2 separate regions of the Homo sapiens genome follow, and region 1 is linked to region 2. Evidence: promoter capture Hi-C in human tissues and cell types (Jung and others, 2019). All regions are on one chromosome and are shown on one strand. The core of a region is centred on a gene start or on the middle of the fragment in contact, and the rest is flanking DNA. Distances in the headings are between cores, read along the strand shown. Region 1 has its middle 25 kb from the start of MRPL17. Region 2 holds the start of HPX (hemopexin).

Region 1 (4,436 bases), core at 6-2,505, 270 kb after region 2:
TTATAACGCACAGAGAGTTTCCCACAATAAATTATCTGGCTCTAAATGTTAACTATGCCGGAGTTGGGAAATCTCAGAATTCATTATCCTGATAGGCTCTTTATCACCATCTGGTGGTGAGAGAAGTGCCTGCAACTCCCATGTAGTTTCAGCCAGAAACCAAACTAGGGCCTCAGAAAAAAGATGGGAGGCCCTAAGAAGGGTAGCTATAGTTACAAAGGGAGGTAGAAAAAGAGCAAGTTAATTCATGGCTGAGAGGGTCTGTGATGCTCTTACTAAGAACTGTAGTTGCTCCTGACGCTGCCATTCTGTATCTATGAACGCTATATTATGATTTCCATTTTCCTGCCGCGCTGGGACTCCAGAGACTCAGAAGAAGGAAGTTAGATGCTGAGGCAGGAAAGGCTTTGGGGAAACTTTATGGATTTAATGTGGTTGATATAAGGGGGTAATCTCTACTTGCATCCATAGGTGCCTCCCCATTACATAGGATGATAAAGCTTTAGCTGTGCCAGGAACAATTCTAGATCGCAGCATGTGGGACCAAGTCAAAGCTCCTTGTTTTGGCTTGATGTAACCGTTACTTCCATTTCACTTTTCCTAAGGGATGCATTTGCAAGGCCTAGGCTTCATTCCTTGACTCCACCCCTCCTACCCCCAATTCGAAAGCCACGTAGAAGAAATATCTGTTCTTACTTGCTTATCAGTTTTACTTCTTTTATTTTCATCCACCAGTTTCCTGTTTTCTAATGATCACTTACTAATGAATTTCCCATCTGGCAGCTATGTCTCATGCTCCTCTCTGCTGCTCTCAACAGGGCTGTAGGCCACTTTCCTGCCTGCTGCTCACTTCTGAAAGATCTGTATTCTCTCACTCCTCAAAAGGATGCTGCTTTCTTCATACAGGTGTTGGGAAGAGGAGAATGTTGTATGCCCCTCATTTTCTTTTTGCACTACCTCTTTAGTATCCATCACCCCATTGTCCAAATCTATCTTGACATAGCAATATCTACCAATGCCTTGAAGTAGGTTGCAGGTTGATTTCCCCAAGAGCAGACGGTAGAACAGTGTGGAGGGCAAGATGTTTATTAGGGATCAACGCCTGTGAAGAAAAGGGGCAAAAGTAGGATTTGGCAGAGAAAGACATTGAGCCGTGATGCAGGCCTTACAAACCTTCCCTGAACCTGGTGGAGAGCTCTGTAGAGTGAAGACCAACAAAGCATCCTGTGTCAGGCTACAATGGCTGGGTCTTTCTTTTCTGTCTCAGCCTCTGGATACAGGCTACCCCAGGAAGGGCATTACCTCAGGTGAAGGGGCTCCCTGCAATTGAGGCAGATTGGGAAGATCTGACAGCTGAAGCCTGGCTGCTTACTTCATTCCCCTCAGTTGGGCAGCAAGTCTTCTCTTGCAGGAGGTTCTGGGTGGCACAGTTCCACGTCTTCACAGAGGAGTGGATGAGAATTACAATGTAAACTACAAGATAAACATGATTTTTCCCATGGTTCAAAGGAAAATCGCCAAAGATACATAAACTGTCAGGCAGGTTGTTCCTGGTTCACATCTTTTCCAATTTGGAATAAATGCAAATTCCTTGAATTTCATTAAAAATAACAATGACATTGGATAACTGTTGCCTCAGGAACCCACAACGACGCTCTCATTCTGTCCTGGCCTACTCACATATCTTCCCTCCATTCCTCACCCCTTTTTTGAGGTTTACATTTTAATTCTATTGTATTTTAAAAATCCTATTCAGAGAAAATAAACTATAGATACAGGAAACAATAAGGAAAGCACATTTATAAACACTGTTTCAGTCAAAATAAAGAACTTGGACTGGCCCAGCGTGGTGGCTCACACCTGTAATCCCAGCACTTTGGGAGGCTGAGGCAGGCAGATCGCCTGAGGTCAGGAGTTTGAGACCAGCCTGGCCAACATGGCAAAACCTCCTCTCTACTAAAAAGTATAAAAATTATCTGGGAGTGGTGGCAGGTGCCTGTAATCCCAGCCACTCGGGAGGCTGAGGCAGGAGAATCGCTTGAGCCTGAGAGGTTGCAGTGAGCCGAGATTGCACCACTGCACTCCAGCCTGGGCGACAGAGCAAGACTGTATCTCAAAAAAAAAAAAAAAAAAAAAGAACTTGGACCCTCTTCTTCAGGACCTTAACAATTAAGATGGAGTGTAGCCACAACTACATTTCAGTATAATAGCAATAATAATGTTAATAAATGCTATAATTACTTCTATTAACGTGACTTTTGCTGCGGTTATTGCTGCTTCTGCTGTTGTTGGCATTGCTACTACCTAACATTATTGGCACGTGTACCATGTTTCAGGCATATGTATTGTTTCACGTTATTCTTAACACTTCACTGAGGTTGCACCATTTTATGTATGAAGGAAATGAAGCAGAGACAGGTTAACTAACTCATCCAAGGTCATACATGTAGTAAATAGTGGAGGCCCTTCGCACAACTAACAGCCTGGCTTTCACAGGCTGGCATTTTCTAACTCTCAACACTTGGCTTATACCTGCTTCTTCATCTTGAATTACCTTCTTCTTGCTTCCTCTCTCTCTTTGTACCCTTTGACCTACACTTCTGCTTTCCCCCACCCACCATCCCAGCTTCTGGTAACAAACATTCTACTTTCCTTCTTTTTTCTTTTTATTTTTTTATGTTTTTGAGACAGTCTCCATGTGCCGCCCAAGCTGGAGTGCAGTAGAGCTATCTCAGCTCACTGCAACCTCTGCCTCCCAGGTTCAAGTGATTCTCCTGTCTCAGCCTCCTGAGTAGCTGGGATTACAGGCGCCCGCCACAACACCCGGCTAATTTTTGTATTTTCAGTAGAGATGGGGCTTCACTGTGCTGCCCAGGCTGGTCTACAACTCCTGACCTCATGTGATCCGCCTGCCTCAACCTCCCAAAGTTCTGGGATTACTGGCATGAGCCACCGCACCTGACCACAAACATTCTACTTTCTACTTCTATGATTTCAAATTTAGATTCCACATGTAAGTAACTCACAACTTATTCATGTGATTTGATGTTGTTCTAGAATCCATCACCCTGCTTCCCTTTTCTACAGGCCTTGTGACTCCTTCTTTCCCACTGTACTTGGTTCTCTGCTTTAACTGACTGGAACATCCCTAAATCTACTGAAGTGATCCCCAACTCCCATGTCTCTGTTTCCCACTTGCAATGACTCTGCCCCATTCCACTGACCATGAGAGCCCTGTTCCTGCCAATGTCATAACTCTAGCTACCTCTAATCCTGTGAGCTGCACCTAGACCCAGTGTCTCCCCCTGACCACCCCCCCCTTTTTTTTGGTTTCACAAAACAATTTGTTAATAGATGATATTTTCATTTTGAATTACTTGTACCATGATGATTAGTAGATCAGTAAATAAATTTGATAATCAGCCGGGCATGGTGGCTCACACTTGTAATCTCAGCATTTTGAGAGGCCGAGGCGGGTGGATCACGAGGTCAGGAGTTCGAGACCAGCCTGACCAACATGGTGAAACCCCGTCTCTACTAAAAATACAAAAATTAGCCAGGCGTGGTGGCATGCGCCTGTAATCCCAGCTACTCAGGAGGCTGAGGCAGGAGAATCACTTGAACCCGGGAGGCAGAGGTTGCAGTGAGCCGAGATCGCACCACTACTGCACTCCAGCCTGGGCAACAGAGTGAGACTCCATCTCAAAATAAATAAATCTGATAATCGTACAAACTTAGAACTAGAAAGACTGGTCTAATATGTTTACAGAGTGAGGATTTTGAACGCAGGTGTCTCCCCTTCTTGATGATCTCATCCCTCCTGACTCCTGAGGTCTCTCGCCCCAGTGCCACCCAACCCACTGACACTAATCCTCTCCAATCCTAACCCCACCTTGATGGCAGCGCTACTCTCTCCACTTCTATCACAGAAATCCCCATCTCTACACAGGCATCTTTGCTTTATCCCAATTTACCTTTTTCCCATCTTTTGTGTGATTTCTTGAGAACGGCCTCTGAATCTCATTTAATAACCATGCAGCTTAAAATCCTGAGGAATTTATCAAAGACTTTTGAAATTTTATACACACTAATTTTGGTTTGAAAGTCAAGGTTAACATATATATGATACCTTGTTAAAGGATGTTAAAAACGTTTAATTCACACATAATATTCATACATGTTTATGCAGTACAGAGTGAGATTTTAAAAAACTTTTATTTAGCCTCAGGGTTACATGTGCAGATTTGTTATATAGGTAAACTCGTGTCATGAGGGTTTGTTGTACAGATTATTTCATCACCCAGGTACTAAGCCTGGGTGATGACAACTGCAGGCTGGCATTCTCTAACTCTCAACATTTGGCTTATACCTGCTTCTTCATCTTTCTGGTCCTCTCTCTCCTCCCACCCTCCACTCTCAGGTAGGTCCCAGTGTCT
Region 2 (5,011 bases), core at 1,894-4,393:
GCAGTGGGGAGAGTCTGGGAAAACTTCCCAGGGAAGATGATACTTAAAGTGAAATCTGAAGTAGGAATTAAAAGGCACACAAGGAGAGATGGAACCCCAGAGAGAGGAAAGATTCCAAAGCATGGAGCAAACTGAGTGTACAGAGAATAGCATAGGGTTTCTGGAGCTTAGTGTTAAGGTAAAAGTATAATAAAAGTCAAAGCTGAAGGGCCAATAGGGATTTGGCCATGGAGAGACTTGTATGTAAGACTAAAGAGGGTAGATTTGTCCTAAGGGTCATGGGGAACAATGAGGGACTATTCACACAGAATTACACACAGTTGCCTTCACCAGAATGACTTCCTCTCCTTCCCTCACGTGACCTCTAGACCATACGTGGCTTCTCTATTTCCCTTCCTTAAAAAGCCACATAGTGGCTCCACCACCACCATCACTACCACTATCACCATCACTACTGGCATCACTACCAACCCACCACTACTCCAGGTTCTTGGATTCCAGCCTGGACTGACCTTGGAAGAAGAGGACGCCTTCAGCTTGACATTCTCCACGGTGACATTCCACAGCTGCATCCAGTGGGGATGGGATTCCAGGAAATTCATCTTGGAGCAACTTTGGGTATCCTTTCTCCTTCTTTTCAGGAGGGTATACCCAGACTTTGTCCCCCTGCATTCAAAAGTACTCTCTTTTTGACTGTGCATCCCCAGATACTGCCACTCTGCATTTACACACATTTTTTATCTACTGTGCTTATACGATATCCTCCTGTGGCCCTACACATTCTCAGTCCATCTGTGGACAACAATGTGCTGTCCTTTTGCACATTACACACTCTCAGTTTGTGCAAATCCAGTCACTATTACTATAACACACATGCCTCTAGCTCTGTACCCAGACACTCCTGTGGCACATTTATCTGCAACACTATCAGTGTTGACAAACATATCCACAACTGTTCATCCTGCAATCACCCATACGTTATTTCTTCATTCATTTCTTCATTTATTTATTCATTCATTCATTCATCCAAGAAACAGTCACTGAATAACTACTATATGCCAGGCATTGTGAGAGGCACTGAGGATAACAAGACTCTGTCTTTCACTTCAGGAAGTTCACTGTACAAAAGCAGAAAGGACTCCTGCAATCCTAGCCATGCAACTACCAAGGTGTAGTGTAAAGAGTGCACTGAGAATATAGACAGAGTGCCTAAGTCTGCCTAGAGAAGTTGTGGAAGGTTTCACACCAAAGAGGAAGCATTGGGCCCAAGAGCTGAAAAATCAGCAGGAATTTTCCAGGTTGACAAGTGAGGAAAGGGTGTTACCAGCAGAGGGAGCAGCATGCAGAGCCCAAACATGAGGAAGCAGTGTGCTCCAACCTCATGTAGATTCGTATGGCTGGCACACAGTGAATGTGGCAGGGGAGGAGATAAACCTGAGAAGATAACCAAGGCCCAGATCATGAGACCCTGTGTGCACTTGGTTTGTAGTAATCAGGCACATTTTGGGGTCATTTACTGAAACAGGAAACACAGGAGGAAAGGTTGGTTTGTAAAGAAGATGCAAAGCTTAGTTTGGGGGATGCTGAATTTTAGGTGCCTGTAGAACATACAATTGGAAAGAGATGTCTGGAGCTCAGAAAGTAGATCTAGATCCAGTGTCCACAGCATAGATATTCCTCAGAGCCAAGGTGATGGTTGAGATCACTGAGGGAAGGTATATGGAAAGGCTAGGATGGATCCCCAAGGAACATTAGGGAACTGGTTGAGATAGAATGAGACATTTGAGAAGAGAGAGAAAAGAGGCAGGAGGGAAAACAAAGCCGACAGTCAGGACTTCCCCAACCACACAGCACCTTTGGCAAGGTAGGAAAAGGCACCCCTTCCTCTGAGCAGACACAGCCTGGGTCACATGGGACTTGGTGAGCACAGCAGACTGGATTTCATGCTCCACATGCTCTTCTAGCCAGGTGCCATTGTGTTGGGAACAACTTGCCTTGCCCTATGAAGAGGACTTGATACAGGGTCATGGAAGGCAAGGGAAGCAATTGCCAGAGAAAAAAAGGATGGCCAGCAGTGTGAGGTACAGCAGAGCGGTGTAGAACTAAGACTAGGACTGAAGAACAGCCACTGGATGGTGCACCTGCCAGGCCCACACGCATGCACACTCCCTTAGCCCAAGCTTTTACAGGAAAGGAGGGCACATGGGAAAGAAATCTGCTACCTATTGCTATGGGCTCCATGCCAAGGCCATTTGGGGGAAGGGTCCCCAGTGTCGATTCCAGCCCTTTCCAGCCTGGCCCTGATTTTGGCCCAGCAGTACCTTGATCAGAAAGACACTGTTGTGACCTTGACGGAATGCAGCATCCACAGGGCTGGGGAAATTCTTCCATCTCTCTGAGATTAACTCCCGGTCCCATTTGTGACTCTTCCACACAAACTCCCCTGAAAAAACCCACACTCACTGAGGGGCCCAGTGAGAAACCTTTGACCTACTGAGATAGCTTGAGAGAAGCTGTCAGTGATACCATCAGATAATTCCTAAGACCTCCCACAGACAGGGACACCCTTTGTGAAGGAGAGTAAGTCTAAGGTCCTAAACGCCCTAACCTCAGTCCCTCCTACCTTTAAAAAACAGCATGGTTCCATTGTCATCCAGGGTGGTAGCATCAAAGCTCCAGCCATCTGAGCAGCGTTCTGGGGTGGAGGTAGGGAGATGGCAAAGTAAAAAAAAAAAAAAAAAAAAAAAAAAAAAAAAAAAACCAGAAGGTGATAAAATGCAGAGACACAACCAGACAGATAAGACAGACTTAGGGAGTCAGGGCCTCACCAGTCACGTCTGGGTCTGGCTTGGTCTCGCCTTCAGCAACATTCCCATGGGCACTAGTCCTAGGGAGAACAAAATAGATATCTTGATCCATTGGGACCGATCCCTTTCCCATAGCCCCTGACCCCAAATTTGACCGAGGCCTAAAAACTGGCCCTACCTTACCCTAGCCCAGAACTCAATCCTTCGCTTCTAGTCCCAGCTTTACTCACGGAGGAAGAGGGGTGGCAATGGCCAGAGACCAGCATAGGCTCCACAACCCCAGTGCAACGGGTGCTCCCAGTACCCTAGCCATGCTGAGCTGCAGAGGCCACAGGACAGCTCTGGGTGACCAGTTGAACTCCCTATATAGAGTTGGCAGCAGCACCACCCCCACCTCCAACTCTACTGGGAATGTGCTGTCTCCCAGGACTAAGCCAATATTGGCTGATTACATCACTGCAAATAAGGTCAGGGTCTGGACAGAAATCTGAATCCAAGACTCCTTTTTCCCGGCAGCTGCCCCCCAACCCCCTTCAGCAATTTTCAAGCAGTAACTGGGCTACACTGCTGACGTCCAGCTGTGACTCTCACACTGGCAATGGGTCCAGGCATCCATAAGTCAGGGAAGTGAGTAGACTGAGGATCACCTTTTGTGATTGAGTTTATCTCCACAATGGGGGAGGTGAGAAAAGGAGGGAACTAATATTGCTGTGTACTGTGTCAAGCCCTGCTCTAAGGCAGCTAGAGACAGCAATACTTACTACTTTTAGTAACCACACACACAGATAAACTTACTTAGAAATACTCAGAGAACAGCTTTTTCCAAGCTTCATCAGGGGCCTTTCTGGGGCATGCCCAAGCCTCTTCAGCTTTACCCTTGGGCTAGTGAGTCTGGGGACAATAATGTCTCACTGTTGTCAAATGTCCAAGCCCCATGCCCAGCCTCTCGCCTTCCCTGACTGGCAAAGGGCTTTGCAAAAAGTGCCTGGAAGTGAAGGGTTGACAGTAATGAGGCAGAAACAGGAGGTGTCTCTCTTCCAGAGAGCACCACCACTACTAGTAATTAGTCTTTCTTGGTAGTTTCCACCTTGGGGGAAAAAGCTTTATTTAACCAACCCAGAACAAATAGAACTGTAACTGGAATTTCACAATATTTCTAGCTGACTCCTGCTTAAATGCTACCTTCTCAATGAAGCCTTTCTTGACCACCTTATCTAGCCATTTCAGACCCTTGCTTGTTTTATTTTACTTACTAAAACTTGAAATTCTTTCATCTGTCTACTTATCTGGTGATGGTTGTTGTTGCTTTGCTTTGTTTTGCCTGTCTTGTTTACCATTATATATCCCTGACTCCTAAAATAGTGCCTGGCATATAAGAGTTGTTCCAGAAATATTTGTTGAATGAAAAAAATGCAAAAATGCATTTCAAGTACTGAGTAGTGTTGCTAGTGTTGCAGCCAAATTTCTGACAATTTCCCCCCCTCTAGGGTAGGAGAATATTAGGAATTGGGGGTAGGTTATGGTAGTAGGCATAATGAGATCTAGGAGTCACAGACGCCCTTTATCTGACAGTCCTGTTTCTCTCTCCAGTGTCTCGGCCCCACATCCATCTCTTCCTGGGATCTCACCTGCTATCCTCAGTACTTCCTGGGCCCACTCCCAAAGCTGCCCCATTTCTGTGTGAGATTTGCCTAGTGAGTCAGAAAAGAATTATGGGCAGACTCAGCTATGGGCCAGGATGAAGTTCCAGGACCCCTGCTCCCTAGCCAAGGCTGAAAGGGCCCTGATCCCTCACAGATGGCTCCAGACCCCTGACAGTCCCATATATAATCTTACCAAAAGTCTCAGATCCCTTTTCTACTCTGCGAAGTTTCCTTCCAACAGGAAAACACACATTCCGGAACCTCTGGAACAACATGTCACCAGGCCTCTGCCATCAGGCTCAATGTCCTCTCCTGACTTACGAATGAAAATGTGCTGTGAACATCATTCCCTCCTCATAGGTCAGTGGGCAAGGCTGGACTCTCTGAGTCCTTGGCAGCCTGGGCAATGCCATCGCTGCTACAGCCAATGTCTCATACTCACCTTCTCCCCATTGCAGGGCATGTCTTCTTTCTGGGTGTTGGGCAATGGGAGCCACTATTCTAAGACTCCCCCTCACCTTTTCTTTCCCTCTCAGCCTCTGAAACCTTATATTCTCCCTC

What was found. Contacts are between HindIII fragments. The study calls those that stand out against the background at their distance.
Region 1: a contact is called between a fragment that was not itself captured here and the fragment with the promoter of HPX in region 2, in 1 of the 25 tissues and cell types used here (heart left ventricle).

Annotation. Positions count from the first base shown.
Region 1 is chr11:6,705,990-6,710,425 of GRCh38, forward strand. No RefSeq gene overlaps it. Among named protein-coding and RNA genes, the nearest start is that of MRPL17, 25 kb to the left of the region's middle. The HindIII fragment of the contact is 5,616 bases long and covers 1-4,063 here.
Region 2 is chr11:6,437,844-6,442,854 of GRCh38, forward strand. HPX (hemopexin) reads right to left here and starts at 3,144. Exons shown (of 10, transcript NM_000613.3): 1 at 3,038-3,144; 2 at 2,829-2,887; 3 at 2,624-2,695; 4 at 2,322-2,443; 5 at 513-666. The coding sequence starts at 3,120. The HindIII fragment of the contact is 2,516 bases long and covers 2,908-5,011 here.